2 separate regions of the Homo sapiens genome follow, and region 2 is linked to region 1. Evidence: promoter capture Hi-C in human tissues and cell types (Jung and others, 2019). All regions are on one chromosome and are shown on one strand. The core of a region is centred on a gene start or on the middle of the fragment in contact, and the rest is flanking DNA. Distances in the headings are between cores, read along the strand shown. Region 1 holds the start of PDGFB (platelet derived growth factor subunit B). Region 2 holds the start of MIEF1 (mitochondrial elongation factor 1).

Region 1 (6,599 bases), core at 4,100-6,599:
GAGAGCCAGACTTCAAGCATCAAGGTGGGGAGGGGGGGCCCAGACCCCCGATAGGGTCATCCTCCAGCCCATCTGGCCCAGCTCCCCTCACCCCAGGACGGTTTCACTCGAATTCCAGCCAGCTTGCAGGGCAGATAGGTCCAAGCTGCCCCGTCCAAACATCCTCTTCCTTGTCTGGAGCCTGGAGGAGCTAAAAATGCATCAGCTTTGGGAAAACAAACACTGCGCTTCCCTCGCCTTTGTATACAGGACAAGGCCCAAGGCCGCAGGGTGGGCTCCTCCAGGCTGGCTTAGGCCTGGGGGTCCATCTGTCTGCCTTCCTGGGGGTCTCCTCTCCTGCCTCCCTGGCACTCACAGGCCAGTGGCCAGAGCCTCATTAGGGTGAGAAGGTCTGAGAGAAGTGGCGGGAGTTCTATGTAAGAACAACCTCCACCCTCTCCAGGTGAAGACCTGTGGCCCCTCTCCTAGCGCTGGCTCTGGAGCTCAGAGGTGAATTTGCAAGTGAGGTAGGGGTGTGTGTGTGTGTGTGTGTGTGTGTGTGTGTGTGTGTGCGCGCGCGCGCAGAGCCTGCAGTAATAACCATCACTGTGATGACCAACATCTGTGGGGTGCTCACTCCAGGCTTTATCACTTCAGGTGAATTAACTCATTTAACCCAGTGAGGTAGGGACTATTGTCCCTACGACTTACAGAGGAGGAACGTGAGGCTCAGGAAGGTTAAGGAATTTGCTTAAGGTCACAGAGTTAGTAGATGGTAGGGCAGGGCTTTGAACCCAGGTGGTCTTTGACGGGAAGCCTAGTCCCTTGCCCTCTCTCAGCCTCACTTTCCTCATCTGTACAATGGGCATATACGATGGCAATGCCTTCTCCCTGGGCGACTGTGAGGGTGAGGCAGGCAGAGGGGAAGGAAGTGCTTTGTGGACAGCCAAAGGCCCTGTAGACAGGGAGGCAGGGGATGGGGCAGCAAGGGGCATGGGGGAGCTGATGAGGGCCACGCGGAGTGGGGTAGGGCTTGGAGTTTCAGACCATTTGTGGCATGGTCTTGGACGGTCTCCAGCTTAGAGCCTCACTTCCTCTCCATCAAGTATGGAGAAGCAGAGCTGCCTGGCCCAGGTGTTGCTGGCCCCTCTCAGTGGCGGGGAGGCTCCCAGTGATCATCGCTCTCACCTTTCTGGACTTGAGGGCGTGAGTTTGCCCCCGGGATGGAACCCAACTCCTTCCTTGGTATTTCTTCACCCCAGCCAGTGTCCTGGACCCCCACGCCCAGGGTGTAAGATGCTCTTCATGGATGAGGGCTTGGATAGCTCTGAGCACACAGTCTAAAAAGCCCCCAACCTTGGGCAGCACCCCCATCCCCCACGGCTGTGGCCACTCTTTTTCCCTTTGGCTCAGATCTGTCCTGGAGTGGAGGGTGGAGAGTTACGGGGGTGTGGGCGCCCCCATCCCTAGCTCTGCTGGAGAACCTTATTTCCCAGTGGCCTGAACGCGAAGATGGGCGGGGGCCTTCCCAGTTCTCTCATTCAAGTGCTCCTCAGACCCAGCCCTGATGAAGTTCCGAGGTCAGATGAGACCACGTGCATTCAGGGTGGTGTGGCTTCAGACCCTTCCCAGTTCTGATACCTCCAGAAGGGGTGCCCTTCAGGGGCCCTGTGCTTCCAAGCTTAGAGGCTCATGCTACAAGCCCCTCCCCAACTCTTTCCACCCTTTAGGAAGGGCCTGGCATCTCTGCAATAACTGGTCAGGACTCAGAAAGAGAAATTGGCAGGATTTTAATCATTTATTCATTCCTTCAGCGAGCGGCACTTCCTGAGCAGCCACTGTATGCTAGGAGCTGGCAGGAGGCCCTTGAACACTCTGGACTCAGTCTAGTGCTAGATTGATGATCAGGCCATGACGATGCCAGGTGTGCATGCTGTGGAGCCTGGAACAAGTGCCAAGCCTGGTGGGCCTTCTGGAGGAGGTGCCTGCTACACCCAGCCTGGCAGGAGGCAGACGATCAGGTGTTATTAAAAAAAAATTTTTAGGCTGGGTGTGGTGGTTCATGCCTGTAATCCCAGCACTTCGGGAGGCTGAGTGGGGCAGATCACTTGAGGTCAGGAGATCGAGAGCACCCTGGTCAACATGGTGAAACCGTCTCTACTAAAAATACAAAAATTAGCTGGGCATGGTGGCAGGCGCCTGTGGTCTCAGCTACTCGGGAGGCTGAGGCAGGAGAATCGCTTGAACCTGGGAGGCAGAGGTTGCAGTGAGAAGAGATCGCACCACGGCACTCCAGCCTCGGCGACAGACCGAGACCCCGTCTCTGAGATGGCTCACTGCAGTCTTGAACTCCTGGGCTCAGGGGATTCTCCCTCCTGACTCAGCCTCCTGAGTAGCTGGGGCCACACTCAGATATATATATATATATATATATATATATATATATATATATATATATATATTTTTTTTTTTTTTTTTTTTTTTTTTTGGTAATTTTTTTTAAGAGATGGGATCTCGCTATGTTGCTGAGGCTGGTCTCGAACTCCTGGCTGCACATGATCCTCTGGCCTCAGCCTCCCAAATTGCTGGGAATACAGGGGTGAGCCACCGTGCCTGGGGAGGTGTTCTTTACAGACTGTTCCTCTGCACAGAGAAGGTACAAGAAAGGAGCCCTTAGCACAACATTCAGGCCCAGGTGTCACGCAGGTGTCACGTAGCATTCAGGCCCAGGTGTCTGCTGGGCCCTCTTCTGCCACTTCTAACCCATGTACTGGCACCTGCACTGCAATGATTTGGGTCTATCTCACTGAGAGCATGGGAAGTCCCTGAGTGCCGAGGCTGGGACTCCTTCCTCATTCCATTTCTCAGCGCTTCACACAGGGTCTGCAAACAGTAGGCGTTCTACGATGCTGCTCTGAGTAGCCTTCCCTCTCCCTCAACTTGTACCTAAGTCAGAGTTCATATGGGTCCATCACTTTTTAGCTGGCAGAGCAGGTTCCCACATATTAATGCATGTGGCGCTCACCAAAGCGCTGTGTCAAAAGTGTCATCATTGTCATCAGCATCACCTGCCAGAAAATTGCACAGCACGGTGGTCTCAGCATGTGGGCTCTGTAGCTGGACTGCTCAGATTCAAGTCCTGGCCTTACCACTTACGGGCTGTGTGACCTTGAACAAGTGTATTGGCCTCTCTGTGCTTCCATTTCCCCATCTGTAAGATAGGAATAACACATCTCACAGGAGCATGGAGAGGCTACAGGTAGAGTAAGAAAAACACTAGCTACCACATAGTCAGCTCACTAATCATGGTAGTTGTTACCATTCTATTTATAGAAGACACAGAAGGTCAAGGTCAAATGACCCAGCTGTCCGGTGGAAGAGGGTTTTTATCTCTGAGTCGTTAGACTTCAAATCTAGTGTTTGGGGGTTATCTCCTCGTCCCGCTGCCCCATCTCCCTTGTCACCCTGTCTCCTAATTTATCTGTTTATACATCTGGTTGTCCTTCTCAATGGGGCTCTTCAAAGGCAGGGGCCTGCATTAGGCTGGTTCACACCTGTCTCCCCAGTGCCTGGAGCAGTGCGGGGCCACCAGTGAACTTGAAGGCTGCATGGAAGGTTCCAGGCGCTTGCTTCCTGCTAAGGTGTTTTGCTGAGCGCCTCCACATGGAGGACCTCATGGGAGCCTCCAGACCACTCCAGGAGCAGGGTAAAAATTCTCTACAACTGCACTGAGGTACAACAAACTGCACACATTTTGTTGTGATGTACGTATACACCCATAAGCCCATCACCACAATCAAAAATGACAAACATTTCCATCACCACTAAAATTTTGCCATGCCTCTCTGTTCTCTCTCACTCCTTCCCATTATAGATTTATTTTTATTTCTTTAGAGATAGGGTCTTGCTCTGTTGCCCAGGCTGGAGTGCAGTGGCACAGTCACAACTCACTGCAGCCTCAAACTCCTGGGCTCAAAACGATCCACAGTCTCCTGAGTAGCTGGGACTACAGGAGCTTGTTACCACACCCAGCTCCAGTTTATAAATTCATCTCCAGTTTATAAAGGAGGAAACCGAGGTACTGAGAGGTTAAAAAACCTTCCTGCAGACACTTGTCCAGCAAGTGGCCACTCCAGGATTTGGACCAAGGTGATGTGTCTTCAGGCTGTGTCTCTGCCACTGTGCCACGCTGCTGGGTGGTAGGCAGCAGTGGGTGGGTGCCTGCAGTGGTCTGTAAAGACCACCTGAGATGTCCTTCCTCCTCTGTTCCACCCTGTCCAGGTCCAAGAAGACAGTCTATGAAGAGAGAGCAGGTGTGACTCTCTCAGTGTGCTCCTCTGTGAGAAGCAGGCTGACATCCCAAAGGGAAGGGCGGATAACAGAGACAGTGCAAGCGGAGGAGATGAGGGTGCCTCAAAGCCGGGAGGCTGGGTGATGCAGGAGCCTGCGTGTCCCGAGGGGGGTGCTGGGCCCAGTGTGAGTACGTGTGACTGTGACTGAGACAGTGTGACTGCTGAAGGCAGGGACACAGCAGCTCCCTGACTGGGGGCAGAAGGCGTTAACTGTGTGAAGGCTGGTTGTGGGTGGGTGGGCTCTGGGCCTCGAACCCGGGGGCTGAGGGAGATAGTAAACAGCAGGGTGACTGACGGGAAGATCATGTTGGTAGCCCTGCGAAGATGCTGCAGGGCTGTGGGGGTTTGTGTGACTTTGCAGTTCAACAAATTCAAATTCAGCCAACGCTGGCAGGGCCTGTTGTGCCAGGCAACCAGCTAGGAGGAGGAGACTCGGACCCAGCTTGCAGCTGAAGGGCGCTGGCTGCCGGGTTCTGTGGGTTCACCTTGCGGTGTCTTCCCTTGCTAACACTGAGTCCTTACAATAGCCCCATCTCCAGGTTGAGGCTAGATGGAGGGGACAGAGGGAAGTGACTTGCCCAAGGTGACCCAAGCTCCCGAGTGCCAGGGCAGGATCTGAATTCAGGCTCTCAGACTGCAGAGCCTGAGTCCCTCCCTGCCATGCCTGTGCCAGGGTGGAAATGTCTGGTCCTGGAGGGGAGCGTGGACTCCTGGCCTTGGCTCTGGAGACATCCCCCTAGACCACGTGGGCTCCTAACCTGTCCATGGTCACTGTGCTGAGGGGCGGGACGGTGGGTCACCCCTAGTTCTTTTTTCCCCAGGGCCAGATTCATGGACTGAAGGGTTGCTCGGCTCTCAGAGACCCCCTAAGCGCCCCGCCCTGGCCCCAAGCCCTCCCCCAGCTCCCGCGTCCCCCCCCTCCTGGCGCTGACTCCGGGCCAGAAGAGGAAAGGCTGTCTCCACCCACCTCTCGCACTCTCCCTTCTCCTTTATAAAGGCCGGAACAGCTGAAAGGGTGGCAACTTCTCCTCCTGCAGCCGGGAGCGGCCTGCCTGCCTCCCTGCGCACCCGCAGCCTCCCCCGCTGCCTCCCTAGGGCTCCCCTCCGGCCGCCAGCGCCCATTTTTCATTCCCTAGATAGAGATACTTTGCGCGCACACACATACATACGCGCGCAAAAAGGAAAAAAAAAAAAAAAAGCCCACCCTCCAGCCTCGCTGCAAAGAGAAAACCGGAGCAGCCGCAGCTCGCAGCTCGCAGCTCGCAGCCCGCAGCCCGCAGAGGACGCCCAGAGCGGCGAGCGGGCGGGCAGACGGACCGACGGACTCGCGCCGCGTCCACCTGTCGGCCGGGCCCAGCCGAGCGCGCAGCGGGCACGCCGCGCGCGCGGAGCAGCCGTGCCCGCCGCCCGGGCCCCGCGCCAGGGCGCACACGCTCCCGCCCCCCTACCCGGCCCGGGCGGGAGTTTGCACCTCTCCCTGCCCGGGTGCTCGAGCTGCCGTTGCAAAGCCAACTTTGGAAAAAGTTTTTTGGGGGAGACTTGGGCCTTGAGGTGCCCAGCTCCGCGCTTTCCGATTTTGGGGGCCTTTCCAGAAAATGTTGCAAAAAAGCTAAGCCGGCGGGCAGAGGAAAACGCCTGTAGCCGGCGAGTGAAGACGAACCATCGACTGCCGTGTTCCTTTTCCTCTTGGAGGTTGGAGTCCCCTGGGCGCCCCCACACGGCTAGACGCCTCGGCTGGTTCGCGACGCAGCCCCCCGGCCGTGGATGCTCACTCGGGCTCGGGATCCGCCCAGGTAGCGGCCTCGGACCCAGGTCCTGCGCCCAGGTCCTCCCCTGCCCCCCAGCGACGGAGCCGGGGCCGGGGGCGGCGGCGCCCGGGGGCCATGCGGGTGAGCCGCGGCTGCAGAGGCCTGAGCGCCTGATCGCCGCGGACCCGAGCCGAGCCCACCCCCCTCCCCAGCCCCCCACCCTGGCCGCGGGGGCGGCGCGCTCGATCTACGCGTCCGGGGCCCCGCGGGGCCGGGCCCGGAGTCGGCATGAATCGCTGCTGGGCGCTCTTCCTGTCTCTCTGCTGCTACCTGCGTCTGGTCAGCGCCGAGGTGAGTTGCCACGGCGGCTGGGGCTGGTTCTTCATTCATTACCTTCGCCCCCCCCTTCTGACCGCCCCCTCCTCTCCCTGCAGTGAACTTTGGACCCTTGCAGCCCGCGAGCCTGACGCCGGGCGCTGGGTGACCTCTTCGGGCTGGGAGCGAGGTCCGGGGGTGACAG
Region 2 (6,599 bases), core at 2,173-4,672, 260 kb before region 1:
CTAAAAACACAAAAAATTAGCCAGGTGTGGTGGCAGGCGCCTGTAGTCCCAGCTACTCGGGAGGCCGAGGCAGGAGAATCGCTTGAAGTCGGGAGGCAGAGGTTGCAGTGAGCCAAGATTGCACCCACTGCACTCCAGCCTGGGTGACAGAGCAAGACTCCATCTCAAGAAAAAAAGGCTTTTCCTACTGTAGTGCAATAGGCACCCCCCGCCCACCATCCAAGGACGGACTGACATCACAGACCTGGTGACCTGGAACAGAAGACGGCATCCACAAGCTCAACAGACAGACACGGACCTTACTTGAAAAGTTAATTCAACTTGTTCCAGTTTAAACTGCTTCTCCATGACACGCTCTCCACTCAGGTTCTGCTGCATAAGCTTACAGCCTACTAGCAGGTAAGAACTCCACCTCCAATCGGGACTGTCATGAAGGAACCCCATTGCTTAATGGGTACAGAGTTTCAGATGTGCCAGATGAAAAGGGTTCTGGGGCTCTGTTACCCAACAATGTGAATATACTTACTACTACTGAACTGTACACTTTAAAATGGTTAAGATGGTTAAAATAAAAAACAAAGAAGGAACACAGACCTGGTGGGCAGAACTAGGGATGGAGAATTTCAGCTCTGCCAATATTTCAGGCAAGTTATTTAACCTGTCTCGCTAGATACAAAAATGGGAACAGAAATGCTCATCACCCTAATATAGTTAAGGATGATGAATAATGGAGGCCTTGCGGCTTCCTAGGATGACAGCACAGAAGTGTGAAAGTTCCAACTTATTTTAATTGAAAAAGCCATAGGCCTTTTTATAAACCTATCTTGCTTGAGTATGTACGAGACTAGGTAGCAGATATTGAGTGTGTATTATGTGCTGGCAATTTTACACTTATTATTAATTCCCTCAATCCTCACAACAACAATCCCATGAGATCAGTAATATTATCCCAAATTTAAAGGATGAAGAAACTGAGTAGTTTCTGTAACTGACCCAAGGTCACTGTGTCAGTAAAGTATGTGACCAAGATTTGAACCCTGAGATCACGCGGTGCGGAGAACTAATCTACAGGGGTCCTAGGTACTTGCTCCACACCTTGTTCCCATCTCCACTCCATTAACCCCCAGACCATATGCTTCTGGGGGACATTTGGGCTCATTCACTGCTGCATCCCCAGGGTGTGCAGTGTTTGATGCATAGGGAGTATATGTTGTGGGAATGAAGTATTAACTCTACGGCGTTTTGTTTCTTGGTTTTTTTGAGGGGGTAGTGATAGCAGCGTGTAGCCCAACTCACAGCCAAAATATATTAGGAACACAAAGATTTCAAGGAACGCCCTAATTCCCTCCTAGATCCGCTAGCCAACCCTCCCTGTGCAGACAGGCTCCCATGGGCATCACCCCACCCCTGGCCCTGTACTGCCAAAGGCAGATATGCCAATCCTAAGTGGCTGAGAAGAACCAAAAGTCATTACATAAGGCTCTCTTCCTACTTTCCCTCCCCCAGTTAAAAGCAGCACCCTCCACCCAGCTGGCAGGCCTTACACCCAGTTACTCTTCATCTTTCTCTCTCCTCCTCCTGCCTCAGCCAACTGATCACCAAGTCCCACTGCTGTACACACTGTGTTTATATGTGGCCACCCCCACCCCTCGGTCCCTCAATCTGATCTGGCTACATCCACTGCCTCTAGTATCTCTCATCAATTTATTCTTCACACTGCCACTGGTATGCTCCCTCTACGATACAAATGTGGCTATGTCATTCCTCTGTTTACAGAGCTGTGATGGTCCCCACATAAGAAGATATACATTACAATCTCAACTTGGAGTCAACGTCCTTCCAGACCAGGCCCAGCCTCAACTCTGGCTATTTGCCTTACAGGGGTACCATGCTGGCCACATCAGACTTAAGTTTCCAGACTACAAAGTGCAGTTTCTGGACAGGCAGAGCTGTTTGAACCTATAATCCCAAAGCTTTGGGAGGCAAGGGTGGGAGGATCGCTTGAGGCTAAGAGTTTGAAAGCAGCCTGGGCAACATAGCAAGACCGTCTCTACAAAAAAAATAAATAAATAAAAAATTAGCTGAGCACATTGGTACATGCCTGGCGTCCCAGCTACTCAGGAGGCTGAGAAGGGAGGACTGCTTGAGGCCAGGCATTCAAGGTTCCAGAGAGCTATGATCATGCCACTGTACTCCAGGTTGGGCGAGAGCGAGACCCCGTCTCTTTTTTTTTTGGAGACGGAGTGTCACTCTGTCACCCAGGCTGGAGTGCAGTGGCGCGATCTTGGTTCACTGCAACCTCCACGTGCCGGGTTCAAGCAATTCTCCTGCCTCAGCCTCCTGAGTAGCTGGGACTTAAGGCATGCGCCACCATGCCCGCCTAATTTTTTGTATTTTTGGTAGAGACAGGGTTTCACCATGCTGACCAGGCTGGTCTCGAACTCCTGACCTTGTGATCCTCCTGCCTTGGCCTCCTAAAGTGGTGGGATTACAGGCGTGAGCCACCGCACCGGGCCAACCCTGTCTCTTAAAAAAGAAAATTGCAGTTCCCACTCCAGGCATTTGCTTATTCCTGCCCTGCTGCTGGTAAACCTCTATTTCTCATTTGAGGCAGACCTCAAATGTCCTCTTTTTTCCCCCCCACCCCAGAGACAGGGTCTCATTCTGTCACCCAGCCTGGAGTGCAGTGGTGCAATCATACCTCACTGCAGCCTCAACCTCCTGGGCTGAAGCCATCCTCCTGCCTCAGCCTCCTGCAGAGTTGGGACTATAGGTGCACACCAGTGCACCTGGCTCTGCACTGATTTCTAATGACTAAAAGGATGACTTTGATCCTTTTCTCGGTCCCTTGCAACAAAAAATAAGGAAACCTACAGGAACGAGGGCCTACGTACCTGAGGCTTCTTAATACATCTGTAAGATGGGGATGGAAGAGAGCAGGAGTGTCTACAGAAGGCACCTTTGTCCTCTTTCCCTTGGAGGATCCTAAATGATCCTCCCCAATTTGCCGTTGAGAAAGACCAGGCCCTTCTCCAGCTGCCTCTCCCGGGCCTCAGCGTCCTCTAGCTTCTGATTTTTTCGGAATTCACGGCGGATGGAGGCAAAGTAGAAGTCTCGATCAGTGTAGCGAAGCTGTCGGCCCTGGCGCAACAGAGCCCGATAGAGACTCAGCACCGCCTCTCGGCTCCACGGGGCCATGGGGGACTGGCAGGGGCTGGGTGTCACACTATAAACAGAAGGAAAGACATACAAGCCTAGTATCAGAATTAATAACAAAAGGACCTGTAGAGACTATGTGAGGGCTTTTTAATCCAAGTTCCAGAGACCCCCCGCTCCAGGTCACCGTATGACTTAATGGCAAGACTAGAACTAGAGACCCCAGCCTCTGGATGCCCATTCTGGAAACATACAGGTTGTGGTTCACCAGGGCTCAAATCCTGGCCCTGCCACTTACTTGCCATATGACTTTGGGCAAAGGACTGAACCCCCGCTGAGCACCAGCTTCCTCACTTATAAAATGGAGATTAGGATATTATGGCAATAGTACCTACCACATAGGATTATTTTGAGAACTGTGCACGTAATGAACGGTAATAGAACTTCACCACAGGGGGTGATCTAGGAGGGTTGAAGACAAGCACTCAGCCATACTTGAATCCTGGCACCAGCACTTACGAGCTGCATGACCGTGGGCAAGTCTCCTAACCTCTCTGTGACTGTCTCAGTTCCTCATCTGTGAAGTGAGGATAAAAATCATATTTTGCCCATACGGTTGGCATAAGCACTAAATGAGTTTAATGTATGTGAATATGTTTAGAACAGCACTTGGCACACACGAAGCACTCTATCAACAGCAGATATTATTAGTAGCACCTAGCCAGGTTTGTAAATGCTCAATAAATAATTACATTTAAGTATAAACTGCCACTGCCTTCCTTCAGTAACAATAAACCCTTACACAAGCATATCTGTAAAGTGCTTTGTTGCCCATGACCACATTTAAATTAAGAATCTAGAAGGTGGTCAGGGTTCTTAGTAACAGTAAATGCTTATTGCATTATATTGCACTATATACAACGTGCAATGTTCGAAGCATGTCTCACATAACAACTCATTCTGTCAGCTACCCTAGGGGTCAACATTACCCCATTTTAAGTGGAGGAAACAATCTCCCAGAGGGAAGTAACTTGCCCGCGGGCCCACAGCTGTCAAGGGGAGGGCTGCACTCCTGACCCCAACTCTGCCTGCCTCTGGAATGAGTTACCCTTTGCTGGAGCCGGACCGTGTGTACAGCACTTCTGGGTGCTCCACGAACTTTCCCAGCACAGCGCTTGGCACATACAAGGGGCTCAAAATTATGCGTAACGGAGAGAATTTCACAACGTCCCTATGTGGAAGAAATGATCACCTCCGTTTCAGAAATAAAGAAATGACACCAAGTGGGGGAAGTATTTGGCTGGAAAAAAAGATTGGACTTTGGGCCCAAAGTCCGCGAGCCCTTAGCCTCCGGCCTTGCTAACTTCCTGCGCAAGCTTGAGCAAGCCACCATCCCTGCCCATTTTTCCTCAACTGTTTAAGAGATCCCTCGGCCCTAAGGACCTCCCGATGCAGAAAATCAACAGAAGTGTTTGATGCTGTAAAAGGCGACTGTCACGGCGAGGGCTGTAACTACAAGGTCGCTGGGCGACTGGGCGGCTGAGCCCCAGCCAGTCTGCACTTCACCAACCGTGGGGGCCGGGCCGGGGTGCGGAGGCCCAGAGGCCAGGGCAGGCCTGCTTCGGGGCACTGGAGGTCTCCGAGGTTGGGGCGGGGCGGGGCAGCCGAGGGGTCTCCCAGGGGAAAGTCCAGGGCGGGATGGGGCGAGACCCCCGGCTGCATGCTGGTATCCTGACTCCGGGCCGCATGCGAGGCGCCGGCAGCAGCCTGAGAGGAGGCGCTGCAACCTCCCCGCCGCCCAGCCGCCGGCGGCCCTCATTCCTTCTCTCACTCACCCGCAGGCCGTGCGCGCTACCACTCCGCAGGACTCGCCTCTGGCCGGGTACCTCTCCCCGGGTCACCCATCAACATGGCCCCTTCACTTCCGGGACACGACCTTGCGCACGGAGCTGCGAAGGGGCTGAAGGGAGCACGAGGGCGAGTGGAGGCGGAGGGACTTCCGGTCTTCTCCAAGCTCTCTCTCGGGCCCCGCCCCCTGCGCATGATTCCGCCCCCCAATCCTGAGCCCCGCCTCCGTGTGTGACCTCACCAAGGGACTGGCCTGCAGAGGCCACTCGCGCCCCGCCCCCAGAGGACTCCGGTGTCCGGGTCCGGCTGTGGGTACCGGGGTGGTCCCGATGCTGGCAGAAGTTCAGAGGGCAGGAGGTAGCCTCGCTGTCCAACAAGGCTGCCGCACCGGGTAGGCCCCTCACCTGCTGGCAACCCCTTAGCCTGTCGGGGTACCTGGCCAGCCTCCTGTACTGTATATGCTGATCTCTGGCTGGGGCCCTGGGGTACCTGAGGGAATTCTAACACTAATATTCAGAGCTCCTCAAAACCCATTTTCTCAGATCGCCTTCTTTTCATCCCTCCATGCTGTTCCTACTCCCCAGGCCCCATGGCTTCTGGCAAACTCCTACCCTTCCTTCAAAGTCTACCTCAAATGCCCCCCTTCACTGGGAAATCTCTCCCAGCCCCTTCCTCGCCTCCCTCTAACACACTCACGTGCCTTCTTTGGGCCCCACGGAAATGTCTGCACATCTTACGCCTCATAATCTGTTCAACAACAAAACGTATTTCTTGGCGCCTACCATATGCCAGGCACTGTAATTTATCCATTTGCTTCTCTGTCTCTCACTAGATTTGAGGACGGAGGCCGTGTCTCTATGGAAGCTCCCTCCCCCAACTGCCTCCCTCCATGCCTGGCTCTGCCAAGCCCAGGGCCTGGGGCTTTGGAGTCCGGGGCCACCGGGGCCACCGCTGGCTCCTAGTTCCAGTTCCACCACTTAGGGACAGCTGCCCTCTGCCAAGTTTCCTAACCTCACCCAGCCTTGGGGCTGTGGTGAGGATTAAAAGGTAATATCTACCAGTAGAGGGGTGGGCAATTGCAGAATAGTCAGGCTATCTGATAAAAGGACGAGAACCAGGAGAAGAACATTGCAGGGAAGAGCATTTCAGGCCTCCCCCCAGGTAAGCCTTTAAGCTCAGCGTGGTCTAGGAGCCACAGGGAGAAAGCCAGTGCTTTCGCAGCTGAGTGAGCAGGAGCTGGGAAAGAGGCCAGAGGGGAGGCCCTTACCAGAACTGGGAGGGAGATGGCGGGTGCAAAGGAACCACAGCAGGGTTCAGAGCCAAGAAGTGCTGGGATCTGACTTCCCTTTCAATGGGATCTGTCTGGCTTGAGAATAACGGAATGGAACCAGGGCTGAGGCAGGGAGACCAATCAAGAGTCTGTTGCAGGGCTGGGCACGGTGGCTCACGTCTGTAATCCCAGCACTTTGGGAGGCTGAGGTGGGCGGATCTACTTGAGGTCAGGAGTTCGAGACCAGCCTGACCAACATGGTGAAACCCCATCTCTACTAAAAATACAAAAATTAGCCGGGAGTGGTGGCATTGTACCTGTAATC

What was found. The method cuts DNA at HindIII sites, captures the fragments that hold promoters and counts their contacts. A contact is called where the count stands out against the background at its distance.
Region 2: a fragment that was not itself captured here is called in contact with the fragment with the promoter of PDGFB in region 1 in 2 of the 25 tissues and cell types used here (dorsolateral prefrontal cortex and lymphoblastoid cells).

The regions. Positions count from the first base shown.
Region 1 is chr22:39,243,732-39,250,330 of GRCh38, reverse strand. PDGFB (platelet derived growth factor subunit B) reads left to right here and starts at 5,349. Exons shown (of 7, transcript NM_002608.4): 1 at 5,349-6,430. The coding sequence starts at 6,368. The HindIII fragment of the contact is 11,810 bases long and covers 1-6,599 here.
Region 2 is chr22:39,500,830-39,507,428 of GRCh38, reverse strand. It overlaps MIEF1 (mitochondrial elongation factor 1), which reads right to left and starts at 5,139. Exons shown (of 6, transcript NM_019008.6): 1 at 4,992-5,139; 2 at 2,895-3,226. MIURF (mitochondrial elongation factor 1 upstream open reading frame) reads right to left here and starts at 3,198. Exons shown (of 1, transcript NM_001414695.1): 1 at 2,986-3,198. The coding sequence starts at 3,198. The coding sequence ends at 2,986. It overlaps LOC105373035 (a long non-coding RNA gene), which reads left to right and starts at 5,269. Exons shown (of 3, transcript XR_938263.4): 1 at 5,269-5,395; 2 at 5,837-6,165. RefSeq lists a silencer at 4,741-4,850 and enhancers at 4,358-4,857, 4,951-5,000, 4,858-5,359. The HindIII fragment of the contact is 4,490 bases long and covers 1,178-5,667 here.